Linked DNA regions of Homo sapiens: region 2 is linked to region 1. The links are contacts of gene promoters, found by promoter capture Hi-C in blood cells and fetal thymus (Javierre and others, 2016). All regions are on one chromosome and are shown on one strand. Each heading gives the region's core, a stretch centred on a gene start or on the middle of the fragment in contact. The rest is flanking DNA. Distances are from core to core; before and after follow the strand shown. Region 1 holds the start of CRYAA (crystallin alpha A). Region 2 overlaps HSF2BP (heat shock transcription factor 2 binding protein).

Region 1 (4,313 bases), core at 1,017-3,516:
TCCGAGGCCTCCAGCCGAGCAAGAGCGGGGCATCAGGGTGACTGTGGGGAGAAGCTCCCGTCCACCTGCCCGGTACTAGCTGTGGGACCCAGCAGGCTGAGGACCCCCTTGTTCCCCAGCCGTGCCCTGGAATAATGAGGACACTGGTTCCAAAGTGCTGCTGTGAGGCGAAGGTGTCAATGCCTGTAAAGCATTCCAAGCGGATGCAGCTATGCCGTCGGGGACTGGCTTCCTCAGGTAGGGTTCATGTGAAGATGTACACTGGCTAGGAGGCGGCCACCCGGGGCACTCCCACTTCCTGGGGTTCTTTCTAAGACCACCCTGGCATCCAGGTGACAGGGATGGAGCTGGCGACGGCTGGGTGCAGCCCGGGAAGGGACCCTAACCTGGATCCCTGAGCCACATTAGCTCGGGAATGGTGACCTCTGTCACCGGGAGGGGCTGGCTGTGCTCAGGTGGGCACGGCCCCTCCCTTGGGGAAAAGCCAGGCCTGATTCGGGGTCCCCTGGAGAGCGTCCCTCTCCCAGGGTTGAAGGCATGGTGCAGGTGTGCAGGCCCGGTCGTGCCCGCCGTGACCCCCTTGTCCTCGCGCCCAACTCGCCCCCCTCTCCCACCTCTCAGTGCCTGGGCTCACCTGGCGCTCGTTGTGCTTTCCGTGGATCTCCACAAAGTCGTCCTGCACCTTCACGGTGAGGTCCTCCGGGGAGAAGTGCTTCACATCGAGGAAGATGACGAACTTGTCCCGGTCGGATCGAACCTGAAATCCAAACGTGCCATGTGGAGCTGCCCAGAGGGTGCCGTCCCTGCTGGGGTTGGCAGAGACAGGGCGGGTCCCGGTTATCAGAACAGAGATGCTTCGGTCACCTGCCGGCCTCTTCTCCCACACACCAAGTGGGGCAGAGCTTTCGGGGGCCTGTGACTGTCTCCTGGACAGACAGGCATGACCCTCGACCTGTCTCCAAACCCTCAGGGCCAGCTGAGGGGCTGAATGCTACTGGTGGGCCGGCTGGTTGTTTGGCTATGGTCAGGTGGCTGGTTATAGATAAGTTGGCTGGTTATGGGCTGGCTGGCTACTGGTTATGGTAGGAGGGGTCGTTACGGGTTGGTTGGTCCGTTAGGGTCAATCGTCTGGCTGGTGATGCTTGGCTGGCTGGCTGGACTCAGCCTGTGGAATGAGGTCACTGCCCTTGGTGTCATGCTGTCTATAGAAGCGGCCGGAGCCTGCTGACAGCCTGCGCAGCTGCCTCTCCAAAACGCACTTCCACATGCTCCTTCTCACTCCCCTGGCTCAGCCTTGGCTCCCTGAGGCATTTTGCACCCTGGCGTTGATGCCTACTGCAGCAGCCCTGGGGAGGACCCTGTTTATGAGGTGCTGGGTGGGACTCAGGCCCTCCAGAACAGCAGAACCTGCACCGCTCACCCGTGGCTCAGAGAGGAGGCCTGTGGTTGGGTGGGGGGGGGGGCGTCCATTGCCTGTCCTTTTAGCCTTGGCAGGGCACCTAAGTAAACTTGCCAAGAGCTTTGCTAGCCGTGGGCAGGCCGAGCTCATTGGAGGAGGTGCTAGGAACGCCCTGCTCTCTGGCTTTCAGGACTATGACCCCCACCTGCTCCCAGGTCTCCGGGACTCAGGAGACCAGAGGAACCCGGGAGCTGGCATTCGCCACCACGCATGCCTGGATGGGCTGCTCTTGGGGTTTCCAGTATGTGGCTGGTGCCTTACAAAGCACACATGGGTCATGAGCTGATGGAGGAAAGCAAAGGTGGATTCAGGCTGCTCCCTTGTCCACCCTCTCCCCAGTGCCAGGGGAAGCTCTGCCACGTGGCTGCAGTGGGGACACAGGCTCTCGCCCAGCCTCTGCAAGGGGATGAAGTGGGACGAGGCCACCTGCCTGACGGAGCAAGACCAGAGTCCATCGCTCTCCACCCACCGAGGCCACCACCCTCTGAGCAGCGAGGAGAGGCCAGCACCACGGGCCACGTCTTACCTCAGAGATGCCGGAGTCCAGCACGGTGCGGAAGAGGGACTGGCGGTAGTAGGGGCTGATGGTGGACGACAGGAAGGGCAGCAGGTCATACTCAAAAAGGCCCTCGCCGAAAAACTGGTCGAACAGCCGGCTGGGGTAGAAGGGCCCCAGGGTGCGCTTGAACCAGGGGTGCTGGATGGTCACGTCCATGTTCAGCTTTGGTACCACGGGGACCTGGAGGCTGGCAGGAGTCAGCGGGGCCTCTGGGCAGCGCAGTGTGGAGCCAAGGCCGAGCCCTCCCTATATATGCCACCAGCAGAATGGAGGCATTAAGGGATTTCTCTGGAAAGGCGTGAGCTCATGAAGAAGGCTGCTCAGTCAGCAGAAACGTGGCTGGGACAAGTGCCCGCCCCCAGCCCCAGGAGGGGCTGCACGGACTGTCCCCGAGGCCTGGACTCAGCTGAGGCCCGCCTGGGCACCCTGGGGCTCCCGGGAGGGCAGACAACCCAAGGAGGCGCCTGTGCCCCATACTCGCCTGGGGCGACAATGGAGCTTCTCATCTGCCAGTCACTGGGCAGGGGCTACGTGCCAGGGACCATGCTAGTTCTCTGCACACCTTGTCCTGCCGGGGTGGTCCTCATGGTCGCCAGAGGAGGGAGAGCACACACCCCCGTTAGACACAGAGGTTAGACACATCGTCCTCAGAGTCTCACCGGGCCTGGGCAAGAGTGCACTGGTTTCCAAAGCGGAGTGCATCTGTGAACCTCCGTTACACTCACCACTTACAAAAGTACGCATGCTTGTTAAAACTCGTGGAGAAGAAGCTGCAAGGTGCCATAATTCCAGCACCTGGGGGAGCCCTATGGCGTTTCATGCTTGTCCTCCAGGGGTCACATGCCTCCAACAGGAAGACGGGCTGGGCTGTGGGCAGATGAGAGCACCACGTGGTGAGCTTCCCTCTGCGGCCCACCCTGGACGCCCAGCCCCATGGCCATCGTCCCCTCGATGTAACGCCTCGAGCGTTACATCTCGTAATGATGTAATGCCTTGATGTAACATCCCCACGTAACGCCTCGAGCCTCCGTGGCATGACCTGCCGTGGCTGTTGAGTTGGGCTGCTCCTGTCAGGGTGGCGACATGTCCCCACGTCCCTGTCACCCATGCGGACCCACCACCCACATGATCCTGTTATCCACAAGTCCTGGTGATTATTTTGCTCCTCGACCCATGGCCCCTGTCCAGTTCTCACTAAGTGTCCAGGCACTCCCGGTTTTGTTTGTTTGTTTTTGAGATGGAGTCTTGCTGTGTCACCCAGAGTGGCGCCCAGATCATATAGTGGCGCGATCTCAGCTCACTGCAACCTCTGCCTCCCAGGTTCAAACAATTCTCCCACCTCAGCCTCCTGAGTAGCTGAGACTGCAGGTGCCTGCCACCACACCTGGCTAATTATTATTATTATTATTATTATTATTATTTTTGTATTTTTAGTAGAGACAGGGTTTCACCGTGTTGGCCAGGCTGGTCTCAAACTCTTGACCTCAGGTGACCCACCTGCCTTGGCCTCTCAAAGTGTAGGATTACAGGCGTGAGCCACTGCACCTGGCTCACTCCTAGTTTTAAGTCTTTTGATATTTTGGTATTTTGATATTTTGGTAAACTGGCCCTGGGGAGCATGGTCCTCCCCCACATCCCCCCTGCCAGCCTGGGAAGAGGCCATGCCCCCTCTCCCAGGCTAGCTTTTCTAGTGTACGGTCCAGGCTGTGGGAAGTTGCCTGGTTCTCTTTGGCCTCCTAGTTCCTACTCAGCCTCTAACAGATTCGTGCGTGTGGAGTGAACACACACCCAGGACACTCCCGGGCTTTGCAAATTCATCTCCAGCCCATGGGCTCAGAAGGCCATGAAATGTCAGATGCCCCAGTGTATGCGGATCAGACCTGACACATCCCAGATGGGATCAGGGATGAAAGGGGGGGCTCCGAGGCGTGCTCCACGGGGCACCTCCATCATGAGCAGCACCCATGAGCAGCACCCTTCCTCCTACATTTACAGCACTGTCCGGGGACACAGGATCCCAAAAAATCTTGAAATGATAGCTTTTGCCCTGCAAGGTTACAATTCCAGAGGAGCGATTCCCTGGGGTGCCAAATTAAGGTGCAGATAGGAAACGCTGGGAGAGTGATGGGTGCTTCCCCCGAAAGCCTACACCAGACCTCTCTGCCTGTGGGTCCTCAGAGCCACCCTGTGAAGCAGGTCCCAGCATCATTCCCGCTTCATAGACCAGGAAATGGGAGCTTAGAAGGTTAAGCCGCACGCCCAGGTCACTTGGCTTGGAAGAAGGGAAGGGGGTTT
Region 2 (4,407 bases), core at 1-2,500, 460 kb before region 1:
AATAGATTTTACAATATTCTACAATTAAAACTAGAATCTTCTGTATCCTGCACTTTTAAAATGTTTTCACACTAGTGTCTGTAAAAAGATATGACACTCTGATTTTCAAACTTTCAGGATAAAGCTTTGAAGTTTTTCAGCATCACTGGTCAAACAATGGAGAGTTTTGTGAAGTCGTTAGACGGTGATGTCCAGGAGCTGGATTCGGATGAAAGTCAGTTTGTTTTCGCTCTGGCTGGAATTGTCACGAGTAAGTGCAGGCGCACCTGAGAGATGTTGCCTGTTTGCTTCCAGACCACTGCAGTAAAGCAAATACTGCAATAATACATGAGTCACATGAATGTTTTTGGTTTCCCAGTGCATATACAAATTATGTTTACACTATACTGTAGTCTGTTGTATGTACAATAGCATTATGTCTAAAAAATGTACAAACTTTAATTAGAAAATTCATTATTGCTAAAAATGCTAATGATCATCTGAGCCTTCAGCAAGTTACAATTTTTTGCTGGTAGAGGGTCTTGCCGTGATATTGATGACTGCTAACTGATCAGGGTGGTAGTTACTGAAGGTTGGGGTGGCTGTGCCAATTTCTTAAAATAAGGAACAATGAAGTTTGCCACATTGATTAATTCTTCCTTTCATGTAAGATTTCTCAGTAGCATGTGATGCTGTTTGATAGCATTTTTTCCACAGTAGAACATCTTTCAAAATTGGAGTCAGCCCTCTCAAACCTTACTGCTGCTTTGTCAACTAAGTTTATGTAATATTCTGAATCTCTTGTTCTTATTTCAACAATGTCTTAGCATCTTCACCAAGAGTAGATTCCATCTCAAGAAACCACTTTCTTTGTTCTTCCATAAGAAGCAACTTATCCTTTTTTTCTGCCACCACGTCTGTAGTTACTTACTCCACTGAAGTCATGAACCCTTCAAAGTCATCCATGAGGATTGAAATCAACTTCTTCCGAACTCCTGTTAATGTTGTTATTTTGACCTCCTCCCATGAATCATGAATATTCTCTTGTTGCCCAGGCTGGAGTGCAACGGCGTGATCTCGGCTCACTGCAGCCTCCACATCCTGTATTTAAGTGATTCTCCTGCCTCAGCCTCCCAAGTAGCTGGGATTACAGGCATGCGCCACCATGCCCAGCTAATTTTGTATTTTTAGTAGAGATGGGGTTTCTCCATGTTGGCCAGGCTGGTCTTGAACTCCTGACCTCAGGTGATCTGCCCACCTCAGCCTCCCAAAGTGCTGGGATTATAGGCATGAGCCACTGCGCTTGGCTGAATCATGAATATTCTTAATGGCATCTAGAATGGTGAATCCTTTTTAGAAGGTTTTCAGTTTACTTCACCCAGATCCATCAGAGGAATCACTGTCTATGGCAGCTGTAGCGTTATGAAATGTAGTTCTTAAAAAAAATAGGACTTGAAAGTTGAAATTTCTTTTTGATATATGAGCTGAAGAATAGGTATTGTATTAGCAGGCATGGAGTCAACATTACTTTCCTTGTACCTCTCCATCATGGCTCTTGATTGACCAGGTGCATTGTCAATGAACAGTAGTGTTTTGAAAGAAATCTTTTTTTCTGAGCAGTAGGTCTCAACAGTGGGCTGAAAATATTCAGTAAACCATGCTGGAAACAGGTGTGCTGTCATCCAGGCTTTGTTTTTCTATTTCTAGAGCATAGGCAAGAGTAGATTTAGCATAATTCTTAAGGGCTCTAGGATTTTCAGAATGGTTAAATGAGCATTGGCTTCAATTAAAGTCACCCGCACCATTGGCCCCTAACAAGAGAGTCAGCCTGTCTTTTGATGCTTTGAAGCCAGGCATTGACTTTTCTCTAGCGGTGAAAGTCCTAGATGGCGTCTTCTTCCAATAGAAAGCGACTTTGTCTACATTGAAAATCTCTTGTTTAGTGTAACCACCCTCGGCAGTGATCTTAGCTAGATCTTCTGGATAACTTGCTGCAGCTTCTCCATCAGCACTTGCTGCTGCACGTTGTTTTTATGTTATGGAGACAACTTCTTTCCTTAAACCTCATGAAGCAACCTGTACTAGCTTCCAGCTTTTCTTCTGCAGCTTCCTTACCCCTGTCAGCCTTCACAGAATTGAAGAGCATTGGGGCTTTTCTCTGAATTAGGCTTTGGCTTAAGGGATTTTTGATGATTTTTGATCTTCTGTCTAGAATACTTGGGCTTTCTCCATATCAGCAATAAGGCTGTTTTGCGTTCTTATCATTCATGTGTTCACTGGAATAGAGCTTTTAATTTCTATCGAGAACTTTGCATTTGCAGTCATAACTTGGCTGTTTGGCACAAGAGGTCTAACTTTCAGCAGGTCTCAGCTTTGGCCATGCCTTCACTAAGCTTAATCATTTCTAGCTTTTGCTTTCAGATATGTATCTTTTCCTTTTGCTTGAACATTTAGAGGTCATTGTAGGGTTATTAACTGTCCGAATTTCAGTATTGTTGTGTCTCAGGGAATAGCAAGTTCCTAGGAGAGGGAGAGAAACGGGAATGGCCAGTCATTGGAAAAATCAGAAGATAAGTAGCATGTATTGATTAAATTTGCTGTCTTACATGGGTGTGGCTCATGGTGCCCTAAAACAATTACAGTGGTAACATCAAAGATCATTGATCACAGATGACCATAACAGATGTAATAATAATGAAAAAGTTTCAACTATTGCAAGAATTACCAAAATGTGACACAGAGACATGAATTAAGCACACACTGTTGGAAAAATGGCACCAACAGACTTGCTCAATGTAGGGTTGCCACATTCCTTCAATTTGTAAAAAAACAGTATCTGCAAAGCACAATAAAGTGAATGCAATAAAACGAAATGTGCCTGTAATTCTTTTCAGCTGTAGTGACTGTTACAGAGACTGGTGTTTACAGTCAGGGTTGAGAGTGTGTAAACATCTCTCAGGAGTGTTTTCAGATATTAATGCTGGGGAGCACCCTGGATAATCTGATTCCATAGTTCTGGGATAGGTACCGGGTATGTTTATTTTGGAAAATCACCCCAGGTGATTCTGATAAGTATCAGTTATTAAGAATGAATGATCTGAAGGAAACAGATGAGTTTGCATGTTCTGTGTAGTTATGTACCTTGACAGAAAAAAACAAGTAAGTTTAGCTGCTTTTATTCAGAATCATAATTTTACTGTCTGGCTAGCTAAAGTAAAAGCCTTAAGCTAAGCTTAAGCTGAGCTCTTTGCTGTTGTTTTAGTATAATAATTATATAATTCCAAAAACCTAAATTGCCTCTTCAGTAAAATTCTCCTAAAAGATAATAAAGTAAACCTTTCCCTGAGAGTTATGATAAAATTCCGTCTCAGAACTATCATAAGGGATAAAGTCCAGGAACTAAATAATTTCTCAGTATAGAAGCAAGGCATGGTGGCTTACGCCTGTAATCCCAGCATTTTGGGAGGCTTGAGGCGGGTGGATCATTTGAAGTCAGGAAGAATTCGAGACCAGCCTGGCCAACATGGGGAAACCTGTCTTTATTAAAATACAAAAAAATTAGCCAGGCGTGGTGGCGCACACCTGTAATCCCAGCTACTCAGTAGGCTGAGGCAGGAGAATTGCTTGAACCTGGGAGGTGGAGGTTGTAGTGAGCTGAGATCGTGCCACTACACTCCACCCTGGGTGACAGAGCAAGACTCCGTCTCTTAAAAAAAAAAAAAAAATTTCTTGGTATAGAAAGAGGTGGAATGTACTAGTGAGTATTGAGGCTCTTTGTTCTGAAGTCAGTGAAATGGTTCAATACATTGCTGTGACTTATCAGCCTTAACGAGATTCAGAAAATATGACTAAGTACAGAGTTTATTTGTGCACAGAGCTTGACGGTGGCCACTCAGAAACACCAACTTCAAACCAGTGGGGTCAGGGTTCCAAAGTGAAGAAGATATCACTGATATAGGCAGAGACAGAGAAGTTCCAGCAGGATTAGAACATTTTCCATACAAGACCAGTGTGTGTGCCACAGTGATTTGACTGTTTATAGATTGCTACATTCCAAGGAGGGTTATCTGAGGAAGTCTTATCTTCAGCAGTTTGGTCTTAATTATTTACAGGAAAGAAAAATGCAGAATTTGCAGCCGCATATCTACATTCCTCACAATGGTTGGGATAATTTAAAGTCCCAACAGCTTTAAGTTTGAATTATTTAATTTCAGACTTTTTTTTTTACATTGATCTTTAATCTCTGCTTTATTTGCTTTATTATTTTCCCATGCTGTTCTTAGGAAAATTCTCTGCTGTTAAAGTGAGAGAAAATTTTATTTTTCTTTTGGTGTTATTCTTTTATTGAAATCCTAATGGGGTAGGTCTGTGTAGACATTTGTTTCTTAATCCTTTAAAACTTGATGATAGTTCTTGCGGGGTGGATGC

Evidence for each region. The method cuts DNA at HindIII sites, captures the fragments that hold promoters and counts their contacts. A CHiCAGO score of 5 or more calls a contact.
Region 2: a contact is called between a fragment that was not itself captured here and the fragment with the promoter of CRYAA in region 1, in 1 of 17 cell types (total CD4 T cells). The highest score is 5.7, in total CD4 T cells.

Annotation. Positions count from the first base shown.
Region 1 is chr21:43,166,961-43,171,273 of GRCh38, reverse strand. It overlaps CRYAA (crystallin alpha A), which reads right to left and starts at 2,266. Exons shown (of 3, transcript NM_000394.4): 1 at 1,986-2,266; 2 at 635-757. The coding sequence starts at 2,174. LOC107987300 (a long non-coding RNA gene) reads left to right here. Exons shown (of 3, transcript XR_007067885.1): 1 at 1-237. RefSeq lists an enhancer at 3,918-4,313. The HindIII fragment of the contact is 23,635 bases long and covers 1-4,313 here.
Region 2 is chr21:43,626,165-43,630,571 of GRCh38, reverse strand. It overlaps HSF2BP (heat shock transcription factor 2 binding protein), which reads left to right. Exons shown (of 9, transcript NM_007031.2): 6 at 118-250. Among named protein-coding and RNA genes, the nearest start is that of MIR6070, 18 kb to the right of the region's middle. The HindIII fragment of the contact is 2,248 bases long and covers 127-2,374 here.